Regions from separate parts of the Homo sapiens genome. Here region 1 is linked to region 2. Evidence: promoter capture Hi-C in 16 types of primary human blood cells and fetal thymus (Javierre and others, 2016). All regions are on one chromosome and are shown on one strand. The core of a region is centred on a gene start or on the middle of the fragment in contact, and the rest is flanking DNA. Distances in the headings are between cores, read along the strand shown. Region 1 holds the start of LCE6A (late cornified envelope 6A). Region 2 holds the start of SMCP (sperm mitochondria associated cysteine rich protein).

Region 1 (7,108 bases), core at 2,266-4,765, 35 kb after region 2:
CACAGACTAACCAGTGTATCTATAGAATAATACATAGGTTGAACACTTAGCACAGGGAATTCAAGTACTGACTAGAGAAAGCTGAGTAGGCCAAAATAGTAAGTAATATTCCTGTCAAAGAAAAACAGTTTCTGTAAAAACTTTTTAAAAAATTTTCCTTTGGTAAATACCTGTCTTCAATAAAGAGCAGAAATAAAAAGTAGAAAAAAAGATGTTCTTACACATTGAGCTTTACACAATCAACTCAACATTGATATTTTGTATTTTTCCTAGGGAAATATGGGATTCTTCCCAAAAATCTCTCATGCAAATATAGACACAAAATTTCAAACAATGGTATATCAATATTCATAAGATATTGCTTCATATAATACAAAGCACTCTTTTTTCCTCAAAAGAGGAAGGCATCTAAACTTTCTTTAAAGTATAGATTTTATGATGGCAAATAGGTGGACACCTCTCAAGCTTTTTAGGAAGTGTCTCTTCTCAAAAAGTGGACTTTTTCCACTATAAACATGGGCAGTCTTTTAACTTTGTATTCACTTTTGCTCTCAAACAAAAGAAATCCCCTCTACCATAATTAATTTCTTAAGTGGAGTAATTTTTATTGCTCCCAAAATGCAGTCTTGCTGAAGAGTCTGAAAAAGTCTTCATAGTTTTGCTAATTTATTCCAATTCTAAAAACTTATTCTAAGAAAATTAAGAGTAACTATCAATGGGAATGATTATTTTAAATTACACTTGACAGCAAGTGCAAAAACAACATAAATGCCCAGTATTGGAGACCTAGTTATGCAGACCATGATGTGTTTGTGAATATCATGTGTAAATAGTGTTGATCAATATTTACCAGCATGGAAGAGTATTGACAATGACTCTTGTTCAATTTTACCATTTACTTAACAGTAAAAAAAATGTAGGTTATAAAGTATTCTGTAATGAACCCATTGTGTGATGTTTAAAGGTTTGCAAATACATCTATGAAATGATTAGCCATGGTTATTTTTAGGTGATAGGATTTTTAGGTTGATCTTAGTCATCTTCCTTAAGCTTATCTCCATTAACAAATCTTTTTTTTTTCTTTTTTTTTTTTTATTATACTTTAAGTTTTAGGGTACATGTGCACATTGTGCAGGTTAGTTACATATGCCCATTAACAAATCTTTATACAAGTGTGTGTCATTTGTTTAATGAGAAAAATCATGCATATGAAATTATAATTATATATAACCATGATACATATCTGCATATAGATGTGTGTCATCACAAAGGTGACATCATGTCCCAGCAATGAGGAGAATTACTAAGCTCTGAAAATGAGAATCCCATATACTGGATATTACAGGTTGAAATTCTGTTCTGAGCCTGGTCAATACAATCTATTGAGTTGGATATTTGGTTAAAAAAAGTAATGCTTTTAATGTCTTGCCAAAAATGCAGATCAACAAAATTATTTACATAAACTTATATTTATATGCATCATAGTTGAGCTTCAAGTCCCCTTCAAGTCTGTGTAATTTATGTCATGCTTCCCTCATCTCAGACTACTAGACTTGGGGTTTGGGCCCAGACTTTTCCCAGAGGTATGATCTTTTGGTAGCTGGTGTTTGATACCTAAAGCTCAGTAAACTCAGCTGGTTTGAATTATCATGAAGACTTGGGGTTATGAACTGTGTCATATCTCTCATCTCACACCTGGCACTCCAGCCAAATTGAAATACACACCATTGGCAAGTACCACCCTTGTTATGCATTTGTTTATGCTGGATCTTCCACCTGGATGAACTTTCCTCTTCACTGCACCTCCTAGCACCAAAGTCTGCTATCTTTAGAGGTCTGGGAGCCTCTTCTCCCCACTCCCAAGTGGGATACTCTCTTTCCTTCCAAGGCCTAGGAAACCACATTTGATCCACACCATCAGAATGGTTCTCCTCTCTCTGCTGTCTTTGACCTAAGGTACTTTTTAAATTTCTGCTTTAAGTTCTTTTGAACACAAATGAGAGATAAAAATGAGTAAATTAATCAGCTTAAAATGATATTTACTAATCCACTTGTTTCTATCTGAAGTGTCCATTGCATCTCCTACTGGATTATAAGCTTTCTAGAGCAGGGACAAATTTCCCACTTACATCTGTAAACACAGAGGCCAGTACACAGTAGGTGCTCAACATATGTTTATTGTAGTCTTTGGTGCTAGAATCATGCAATGACATGGGTTGATGGCTGTGAGGCTGCTGGAAACTGGGACATAAATCCCAGAACATCTGCTTCTTAAAAATACTATCAGCTGTCTTAAGAGGAAGGAGGAGAAGCACCATGCACTTGGGTTGAAGCGGGGGTCTCAGTACATCTGAGCAGGGGTCTCAAGAACTCACAGAAGTCAGGGCTCCAAGTAAAGCAGCTTTATTGTTGCTGAGCTGAAGGGGTGAATGGAAGAGAGCAGTAGCAGCGTGGCTCAGCCTAGTTCTCGCTTCTCTAGAGCTGGGGATCAGGAAGTGTTTCTCAGTCCAAATGAGAGGTTGAGGGCCTGGCTTTCCAAGGGGGAATTAGTACCCAAAGGTGGGGCAGGGAGAGAGTAACTGCACCTGTGCCTCAACTCTTCTGGGCTCAGTCGCCTTCACACTCTTCCTCTTTGCAGTGGTAGGTTGTGCCCCTACTTAGGCAGCGCAGCTTTTGACGAGCCCTCCTAGGCTTCTGAACCTCAGGCCTTTGGGAACTGGAATGACAACCTTCTGAATGGGGAGCACCACAAGGAGTCGAGTAGGGAGCTAGGCAGGGGTTTGATCTTTGGGGAGGGGAGCATTTGGGAACATTTGGAGGCTTCCAAGATTGCTGCTTCTGCTGTGACATTGCTTGGCTACCAGGTCGAATCTGGAAGAAAAATAGTTATATCAGGGACCCAGGCAGCTTGGGCTTCTGTTTCTCTCCTCCACAAACTGGAGCTGTCAAAAATGAAGTCCAGCATTTACAACCCACTGAACTCCATCTCAGGAGGAGAAAAACGGACTTGAAAGGACTAAATATTTGGGAGTAAATCTTCCCAGGGGACTCACTTACTAATAACCATGTTAATGATATATGCTTCCTTAAAAAAAAAAAAAGACAAATTGTACTTAGTTGAGCTGACAGTTTACTTTTCCCAGCCCAATGTCCACCTGGTTAAGTGCAAAGGAGAGCCAAGTCTCTGCTCTTTCTTTACTCTGTCTTATTCTGTCCCCAGACTCCTAAGTCTGACTGTCCCATCTCTGCTTTTCTGGCCCTCTAACTTCTATGGCTTTCTCCCATGTTAGATTATTTGGGGTCTTTCTTTTGCAGGGATCCACTTCTCTTCCCTTCTTTCTACCCCAAGCATCTCCTACCTGGCTTTTCAGCTCCCTGGGAAGAGACGAGAGGAGAGATCAGGACTGCCTAAGCAGCACTTGAGCTACATCCAAGTGTCTCCTCAGCCAGAAGTAGCCTTACCCTAGTGGAAGATGTGTGGACAAGTTATCCCAGGAGGAGTCTGGAGGCCTTGTGTTGCCAGGAAGTAAGAGGCTCTTTTATATATCCTCCAGTTGAAGCCTCCAGGCCACATGTCATTGGAGGAGAGCCATGGAGTGGATGATTGATCTGGGTATTTCACAATTCCCAGTGCTAGATTCCTCAGCTACATGTAGCTGGGATGTGGTTCAAAGGCATCTGCAGGTGCGTGAGTGAGCAGAAGGCTGGGGCCTTCAGATTGGCCTACGCAGAAGTGGGTACACTGGCTAATCTGGATGATGTCCTTGGGAGGCTGGGCGGGTTGCAGCTGCTGTTGAATTCTATGTAGGATTGGAGGGAAAAATCAGGTTCGACATCACCCAGGGTCTGAGGAAGACCTTCCTTGTCTACTCCCCACCCATCATCCATGACTGTCAGCATCCCATTCCGTGTCATCACCTCTGTGGAGATTGGCCCATTGCTCTAGCCACACATGAGTCCTTCATCCTCTGACCTTTATAGATACATGTCACAGCCTTTACTATTGCTTTGGGTCGTGTGACCAAGATACATATCCTATCTCACCTATTAAACTGTTATTTGATGACAGTGCCTTTATCACTTCTGCATTCCTAGAGCCTGATGTTGTTCCTGACACAAAGAAAATACTCATTAGTATTTGTTGAATGAAACAGTCTATGTGCCATTAGAAAAGACTTTGTGTTTCAGGAGAAAAAAACAGGAATAAAATAAAGCCCAACTCATTTTGTTTTGTGGACGAGACCTTGACTTCTTGTTTCCATCATTCTCCCCTAAGGCATTTGTGAACACCCTTTCATAAATACTACAGGGAACTCTGTGGGTGGACCTCACCTTACACAATAGGCTGAGCAGAGGGTGGGAAGCAAAACCTTCACACACCTGCTGTCTCTTAAATGCAAAAGGGGAGCTGTTCTTGGAATTATCAAGGGACATTGTGGAAAAGCCTTCCACAGAGTGAAAAGTTCTTCTTTAGCTTTCATGAAAATTGAGATAATCATGTTTTGGCAGTGCTTAAATTGGGAACATTCTCTAAACACAGTCCCTCACCTCTGGATGCTTCCATCTCAGAATCGCTCCTGGTGTGCCCAGCTAAGTTAAAAGGCACTGATGAAACTCCCTGCTGCTCAAGAGTGTGCCTCACCTGCCTCTGTATTTCTGATGCCTGACACACAGTAGGTATTCAGGAAACAGTTGGGTAAATAAAAAGATGAGCAATTACAAGGAACATTCTGACTGTAGGGGCAGTCCTCAAAGGCCTTCAAATCATGTATAGGACAAAGGTGAGTAGGGTTGGGGTATGGGAGAGGGTATGAAGACCAGGGTGGAAAATAGGACAAGGCCAGAAAAGGAGCAGCTATTGGATCCCAAAATCCAGCAGGGCAGGATCATCAGGTTTCAATTGCTTCATCTGGGAAAACTTTGAGATGCAGTTTGGATGGAGGAAGAGAAGATCTTTGTGAGTGAAACAGCAGGTGGAAGAATGGTATGAAACCTCGCTCACTCTGTTAGAGCAGAGCCCTGGAGAGAGAGTGCCTGATTTAGACAGCCTCAGGGATAGACCCCATCTTCCTTTACTTCCTTTTCCCTTTTCTCTCTCCTTCTCTTTCTCCTCTTTTCTTCCCTCAGACACCAGAAATAACTCTGATGGTGCCTCAGAAGTGCTTCCCTTGCACTAAGCATTAGCAGGAAGGCAAAGTAACACTGGTCTCAATGCACCAGTTGCTCCTTTTCCCCACCCAAGACCTGCACCACTTAAACACATGCTTCAGAGACCTCACACATCACAAATGCATTTTTTTGAAGTTAACTAGCAAGTACCCAACCCTTACTGTCTCTGCCTAGGGCTGAGGGTTCTTTCTGGAGGCTCTGCCCTAGGCAAACTACACTTCCTGCCCCTTCTATATCTCTCCCAGACCACCTCCCATAATAAATTGCCCACAGAAATCTCTTAGCCCCCTCCTTTTCAGTACAGTGAATTTCATCACATATAGGATGGAGTGTGTCCAGCATCTAGATTTGCCTAGCTCATTAAGTGAGCCTGTTTGAGGCCCCTGAGCTGCACTGTCTTCCAGATAAACTTAAAAGTCCAGCCAGTTTTAAATCAGGACCACAGAAATGTAATGTTCTTATTCTAATCCCACTCCACTTCTCTTCCTGGTTCAGATTGTGTCTATAATTATGTGATTTGATATTTATTAAGTCCCAACTATGTACTGGATACAAGAAAGAATAAGATGTCTATATTATGTTTCAAAGCTTTCACTCTCCAGAGGGAATACAGACAAATTAATAGGTAACACAAGCTTGTAAGTGAAAAATCGGCAAATAGGCAAACTGTAGTTGTAGCTTGAGAATACAACTAGTCCTCTTAAATGTACCAAATTAGAAAGGTAGTGTCTCAAGTATGTAGCTCCCACCATTATCAGAGTCCCCACCTGGTCTGAAGACAGGAGCCCATCTCTGAGAATAATCCCATCTCATTCCTGGTCTCTATTCAGGAGACTGTTTCTCTGAGCAAGAGATATCTCTAGGTCCCCAGCCTCAAATGAAGTTGCTTGGCTTCCCATGACTGGGTTTCTCTTTGGTCAATTTCTTTCTGATATCTCAAATCATTTAACTATTCCTGAAGTAACTCCTCAAATATATTTTTAAAATCTCTTTTATTTTGCTTTATGTTTTTAATGAATAATTGCCCTGACTGTTAAGTGTTCATTCAGAACACTCTGATGTCTTCCGGATAAATCTAAATTCCTTTAGCCAGCATTCAAGTCCCTGTGTATACTCGAACCTATCCCATCGCTTTATGCTTAACTTCTGGAACTTCCTTTCATTATGTCTCCTCCTCTGCTGAATGGATGGATTTATTGTATGGTGAACTGGCTTTTATCCTGTCTGATGTCCGTCTGTCTCTACCTCTCTTTCTTCCTCCCTTTTCCACTCTATCTCTTTGTCTTCCTCTTATTTCCTCAGCCTGCCTGCCTTCCTTCTTCCTCTCTTTTTTTCTTTCTTCCTTCCTTCTTTTTTCTTTCTTTCTTTCTTTCCTTTCCTTTCTTTCTTTCTTCCTTTCTTTTTTCTTTTCTTTCTTTTTCTTTTTCTTTTTGTCTTTCTTTGTGTCTTACTTCTTGTCTTTCTTGGTTCCTCTTCTGAGACTACTTCCGAGGGCCAGTTCAAATCCCGTGTTCTCTGTAATGAATTTCTAGACAATGCCTGGCTGAGAAAATCTTTCAGAGCATTTATTACTTGTTATACATATAATTTATTATCATAAACAATTGTACTTGTATGTGATATTGTTAATGCCTTGAACATGGGGCTATTATCTGTATATCTCAAGCCCCATTTCAGTGTACACAATGGTTCATTACAGTTACTAGTTATTAGGTTTGTTAATTATTAAGTTTTTAAAAATCCCCATCACAGATGTTTGCAAAGAACTTTAGTTTACAGAATGCTTTTCAAATATTATGTCCTGAGTCAATTAATTCTGATGAAATACAGACTCAGGCCATGATGAAATCAGACACTTACAGTGAGTTTGGGATTGTCCACATCACACTGTGGGCACCTCAACTATATTTCCTGAACACTATTATATTTTTACTTAGAC
Region 2 (6,323 bases), core at 445-2,944:
TGCAGAGTCTCATCACCACTTGGAAGTCCAGTTTGTTAGTGTCCATCTTTACAAGTCCAGACTGAGCTGTTTCTACAGAAGCAATTCTCATTCCAGTGATCAGAGGTGCAGAGGCATCAGAGGCACCTGGAGCCCAGGTCCAGGGGCTTGCCTCACCAGTCCCACCAATGTCCCCACTCCAAGCATGTCCCCCATAGTGAGATCCTGGGAATAGGTCCTGAATGTGGAGGTTGTGCAATATCAGAGAAGGACAGCAGGTTGGAAACCAGTCTTGTTGACTGTAGCATAGGGAGGGCAACATCAAGTCCTTCTGCAACCTCACCCCCATGGATGCAGGTCCTGCCCCTCTGAGCCAGTGCTGTCTCCACTGTCTTCCTTCTGCCTGGTGAATAGTATCTATATCCTCCACTTTCAGAACCCTGGCTCCTGTCCAACAAACCTGCCTCCTGGACCCCTCTGCCTCCTGCAAGAGTTTCTTCTTAAGATTCTCTCCTTGGCCGGGCACAATGGCTCACACCTGTTGTCCCAGCGCTTTGGGAGGCTGGGACGGGTGAATCACTTGAGGTCAGGAGTTTGAGACCAGCCTGGCCAACATGGCAAAACTCCATCTCTACTGAAAATACAAAAATTAGCTGGGTGTGGTGGCGTGCACCTGTAATACCAGCTACTTGGGAAGCTGAGGCAGGAGAATCACTTGAATCCGGGAGGTAGAAGTTACAGTGAGCCGAGACCTCACCACTGCACTCCAGCCTGGGTGACAGAGTGAGACTCCATCTCAATAAATAAATAAAAAGAAACAAACAAATAAATAAATATTCTCTCCAAGCTCCATTTCCCTTCCTTCCCAACCATGCTGTGCACAGCCTGCCTCAGGAAATCTGCCTAATCATGTCAAACACTTGTGGTGCAAGGCCAGGGCCATCTTCCTAGCTCTTATTGCTCTATTCAGAGAGGATTGATACAGAGCCCAAACCACCAGGAGGGCTCTGGCAAGGCACCTTCTCCCTCTGCCCACAGGCCCAGCCTCATGTCCAAACACTGTTCCCTCAGGCACCAGACTGGCTCAGAGCAGACACCTGCTGAATTTTCTCACCTCTTTCCAGGTCTTTGAATGTGCTCTTTCCCAGCTTAAACCACCCTTCCTGGGTCTCTGTCCCCACATGCTCACTGAATATCGTTCAAACCTGAAGTCTCTGCTTACACATCACTCCTCGAGGAAAACTTCCTTAACCCAAAACCTCCATCTCCCTGAAAGGCTTTCTTGGATCCCCTGTACTTCCCATTACATTTTTATAGTGGTTATTATTTTCCCAATTGTCTCACTTTTGTGGTCTGTTAGTTCCATAAACACAGGCATTCTCACTATCCCCACCCCCAGTGGCTCCCATGTCTTCCTCTTAAATAGAAGCAGGAGCTTTTTCCTGAAAGATAGGATGAATCCTGGAATCCTCTCATCCAACACACTGAATGGCATTGCATGGGTCTCAGTAGGTAAATACGTAATGAACTAATGAACACATGAAAAAGCCATGGAGAGAGGACCCAAAAGACAATGTTTCTCTGTGTTACCTGGTCTGGCCACACACACAATTCACAATTTCCATGCTTGACTTCTCATGACTGATTCCAGTAGGTATTATTGATCTTCCTCAGCAGCCTAGTGAGTCCATGACTATCAGAAGCCAAAGCCTTCTGAACCAGATGGGTTCCCTTCCCTGCTAATGCCAAGATTCTAAGCCTCTATGACACCATAATTCTCTCCACAAGACTCTATGCCTAGCTCACTCACTGGCGCCCCCTGCCTGCTGGAGAGTCTGTCTCTTTGGTTTCTTTCCTGAAAGATAAAAAGAAAGCTCCCTAGCTAACCCATAAGCATGCAATAACCTAAAACACAAATCTGTATTGATTGTCTCCTATCTACCAGGCTCTGTCCTAAAAAGTGAAGTGTAGCTCAATGGGATGTAGTTCCCATTCTCAAAGATCTAATTCAATATGGAGGCAAGTCAATAGCCAACAATACCATGTGATAATAATGATGGTAGGATAAGCACAGGGGTCAGGTTTGGGGGTCAGATATGCTTCCTGGAGGGAGTGATATTTAAGCTGAGACTTGGAAATTGGAAATAGGAAGTTGGACATAGGGGTGTGTCTGGGAGGACATTTTCAGATCCAGAAATGTGAAAGTATAGGCTATTTGGTGGAAAAGCTCAGTGTGGCTGGAGCAGAGTGGGGAGTAAGGAGAAGGGGGAGATTCACCTACCTAGGTAGGTAAGGCTGTGTTGGTGAGGACCTTTATGCCATAAGAAAAAGAGTTTGGACTTTATCCTGAGGACAATGGGAACCACTGAAAGGTTTTAAACAGGGGAGAAACTGGGATGCCTTAGGGGCCAGGACCCTATTTTATTCACTTTGATATTCCCAGTGTCTGGCTGAGCAATTGGCACATAAAAGATTCTGAAACTGAATCAATTGAATAGTGAATTGACTAAAATAATGATAAGAGAGAAGCATTTCATTATGTTTACTCTTTCCTTTTCTTCCTGTAGCATGGCCTCTTTGAGGACAGTGACTAGGAAATTCTGTTCTTCTGGGAAGCATGCCTGCCATAAACATTTGTAGGACACCAGGCAAGAGCACAAACAGAGGCTTCTGACCCCTGTGGTTCACCCCTGGTTCTCTTCCTACTCCCTGGCTTCATCTTGTGTCACGAGGGACCTCGGGCGTGCATGAGTGTAAATATCCTAGTCCATACCGTCCATGTTCTTTTCATACATGGATCTCTCAAACTGCCCCTCTCTTGGTCATTGAGACCTAGAAGTGAGCACAGTATTGGCTGTTTGAGTCTTCAAGAGGATAGACACATAAAGGTGATCTCAGGGCCAGTTGACAGAGATTTCTGGGGTCCTGGATAGCTGGAGTGAGAGAGACAGCAGCTCTGGGCCTGTACCCTGGACCTATTGAATCATCCTATGGGGGTGGGTCATGGCTGGAGGAGAGCCAGAGAAGGACTCTTTAAAGTCTGAAGTCCAGGACAGAACCACCTCGGCCAAAGGGTAGCACTCTTGGGAAGTATGTGAATTGTGCTTTTCATTCTATAATAGCCTATTCAAGTATTTCTCTTTTACTTGTCTTCTTCAGGTCTTCATGCTTATAGTTATCTCTAAAATTTATTCTCAGTAAAATGTCTACTCTTATTCACATCTCCCAAAGTCTCTAACATTGTAGTTGGGACCAAAGCCTTAATCTATAAGAATTAAGTTCTTTCTAGGAAGAGTACGGAGAGGGAGAGAGAGGTAGAGTGAGAGAGAGAGGTGGAAATGGCCAACAAATCTATGAAGAAATGCTTATTCATAACTAAAGGAATGCAAACCAGAAGATCAATGAGACACTGGCTTTTCTATGACAGTCTGGCAACAAATATGAAATTTTGATCACATTAGTTGTTAATGAATATGTTGAGAAACAGGTATTTTCATATTCTGTTAATGAGATTTCATTTTACAATCATGTAATAGGATAGTATATAGCTAATAAAAACAGAGTCCAGTTGTAGATGATGCTATGAAAAATTCTCCCAACTATGTAATCAAAGAAAGCAATCCAGTAAACAATATGTTAGTATATTCCTTTTCTTATAAAAAGAATGTATATACGGAGATATATACAAAATAAGATAAACATATATGTTAGTATACATAAATATTTTCCTAGAAGAATCAAATACACACAAACTATTTGAATTTTTAACCATGATGCATATTAGTTTGTTAAAATTAAGCTAATGAAGGCTATCTAGAAGGTGAGGATAGATATACTTTCTGCTCACCATTTAAATTCTATTTCCAACACAATGTATGGAACATCCTAGGTACTAAATCCACATTTAGTAAATAAATACATGGAAGAATAATTTAGCCAGTACATTAACTTGGAACTCTTTGTGTTCCTGTTCTTCTGCCTGGCTACTTCCTGCTGGAGTCCTTGGTTCTCTTTTCTTCTCCATCAATACTCATTTTCTTGGTTAGAACATTCAGTCTCCTGACCATGAAGGCCATCTATATGTCATTGATGATGGTGTCTACTTTGTTAATAACAGCTGAGAAATCTCTCCGGAACTTCAGACTTTCATATTCAACTGCTTATTTATTTAGTATTCTCACATGGATATCTAATAGACATCTCATATTTAATGTGCTCACAACTGAGCTATTGATATTTTCCTGAAAACATCCTCTACCCCTAGACATCTCAGCCCAGAAGATGCTAACTCTATTCTTCCATTTGCTCAAGCTAAAGACTTTTGAGTCCTCCTTGGCTTCTGTCTTGTATAACTCACACTCAGTTAATATCAGTAAATTCTGTTAACTTCAAAATGAATCCATCTGTAACTGTGGCCAACCTACTCTGAGACACCATGATTTCTTGCTGACTTTTCTAATCAGCTTTTAACTGGTATCTCTGCTCTATTCTTGGTCCTCTATTGTCTGTTTTCAGCAGAGCAGTTGGGGTGGACTTTAAAACATAAGTCATATCATGTAATTCTCCTGCTCAAAAACCTGAAGTGGCTTTCCATGCCTTGCTGGGTAAATTGAAGTCCTCACAATAGCCCACAAGGCCCTGCATTATTGACCCCCAACTCCACACACACCTTGGACCTCATCTCCTACTGTTCTTCCTGTCACTTGCTCTGCTGCAGCCACACTCACCTCCTTGCTGTTCCTGCAGCAGGCCAGGTGTGTGCACATGTGTACATGCATACGAATGCACAAGCATGCCACTAAGGGCCTTTTGTTTGTATTTCAAGTCTTTGCTTAAATATCAATTTCTCGGTGAGGTACACACTGATTTTCCTAATTAAAATGACAATCTTCCACACTTGCCCTCACTCCAGTCACCTTTACACAGTCCTATTTTGTTTTCCTTTGGTAGTACTTTTCACATACAATATAATATAAGTATAATATAAAGACCAGTATCTCATAGCACTAAAATGAGCTAATTTTTATTTATTATAGTTTTATGTATTGTCTTCTCTCATTAGAATGTCATTGCCAAAAAGGCAAATGTTGTTTACTGATATATCTCAGGCTCTCAGTCAGAATAGTTCCTAATACATAGTAAATACTCAAAAATATTAGTTAAATGCATGAATGGTGATTGTTGGTCTTTTTTTCTTAAATCAAACTTTTTCTGCCAATAACTCCCAACTTGCTTGTCCAAATTGGGGAACTCATTTTTTAAGGCTGTTTTCAATGCATCATCCAAACTAGCAGAATGTGTCCCGCGGCAGCCACACTCCTACCTCCTTATGTTTTTCTGCCTCTGTTATCAAAAGTGGGGAAGACTATTACCATCTTTCTTTGCTGCATGGGCTATGTTAATTGATGGTGAGAAAAGTTGAGGCCAGTTTGCAGGAATTTGCTAATGTAATGATGTGATTACATCCAGTAACGGAGCGGAGCGAGTCCTTATGGTGCTGTCTTCCTGGGTTCCAGCATTTGAGGCTCTGCTTCCTGCAGGTCTCCTTTAATGCAATTTTTTTTGTCCTTTTTTTTTTTTTTGAGACAGGGTCTCACCCTGTTGCCCAGGTTGTAGTGCAGTGGTGTGATCTTGCCTCACTGCAGCCTTGACCTCCTGGGCTCAAGTGATCCTTCCACCTCAGTCTCCCAAGTAGCTGGGACTACAGGTGCGTGCCACTACACCTGGCTAATTTTTGTATCTTTTGTAGAGATGGGATTTTGCCACATTGCCCAGGCTGGTCTTGAACTTCTGAGCTCAAGAGATCCTCCTGCCTCAGCTTCCCAAACTGCTGGGATTATAGGCATGCACCACGGAGCATGGCCCATCTCCTTTAATATTATTAATAGTGATCATTATCACACATTCACTTGGGCCTAAAATCAGAAGTTACAAAGGATACACAGTGAAATCCCCAACTTGAAACTCCAATTACTTCAGTTCACAGAGATCAATTTCTGAAATATCCTTTCAGGGTTATTTTATGCACAAAAAACCCCACACAAACATGTATATTTTTTCTTCTTTTAATGAAATAAGAGTAACTCCACATCATTTTGCTCATTGCTTTTTTCACAACAGCATCTGTTGGAGAGCATTCCACTTCAGTGCATTAAGACTTTCTCTCTTTGTTTCCCAGTCTGGATAATAACCTATGTATATATAGCAGTTCCCAATTTTGGCTCTTGCAAACAATGCTGCAGTGAACACATTATTTATACATCATTCCTCAGGAGATAGAATATATTTATTTAAGTGCAATTGCTGACTCAGAGGCTAAATACTTTTGTAATTTGATCAGTATT

Evidence for each region. Contacts are between HindIII fragments. The CHiCAGO score rates a contact against its expected background, and 5 or more counts as called.
Region 1: the fragment with the promoter of LCE6A here is called in contact with the fragment with the promoter of SMCP in region 2 in 2 of 17 cell types (total CD8 T cells and total CD4 T cells); the score reaches 5.5 in total CD8 T cells.

Annotation. Positions count from the first base shown.
Region 1 is chr1:152,839,263-152,846,370 of GRCh38, reverse strand. LCE6A (late cornified envelope 6A) reads right to left here and starts at 3,515. Exons shown (of 2, transcript NM_001128600.2): 1 at 3,360-3,515; 2 at 2,388-2,871. The coding sequence starts at 2,850. The coding sequence ends at 2,608. The HindIII fragment of the contact is 3,660 bases long and covers 2,100-5,759 here.
Region 2 is chr1:152,873,693-152,880,015 of GRCh38, reverse strand. SMCP (sperm mitochondria associated cysteine rich protein) reads right to left here and starts at 1,694. Exons shown (of 2, transcript NM_030663.3): 1 at 1,570-1,694. The HindIII fragment of the contact is 18,030 bases long and covers 1-6,323 here.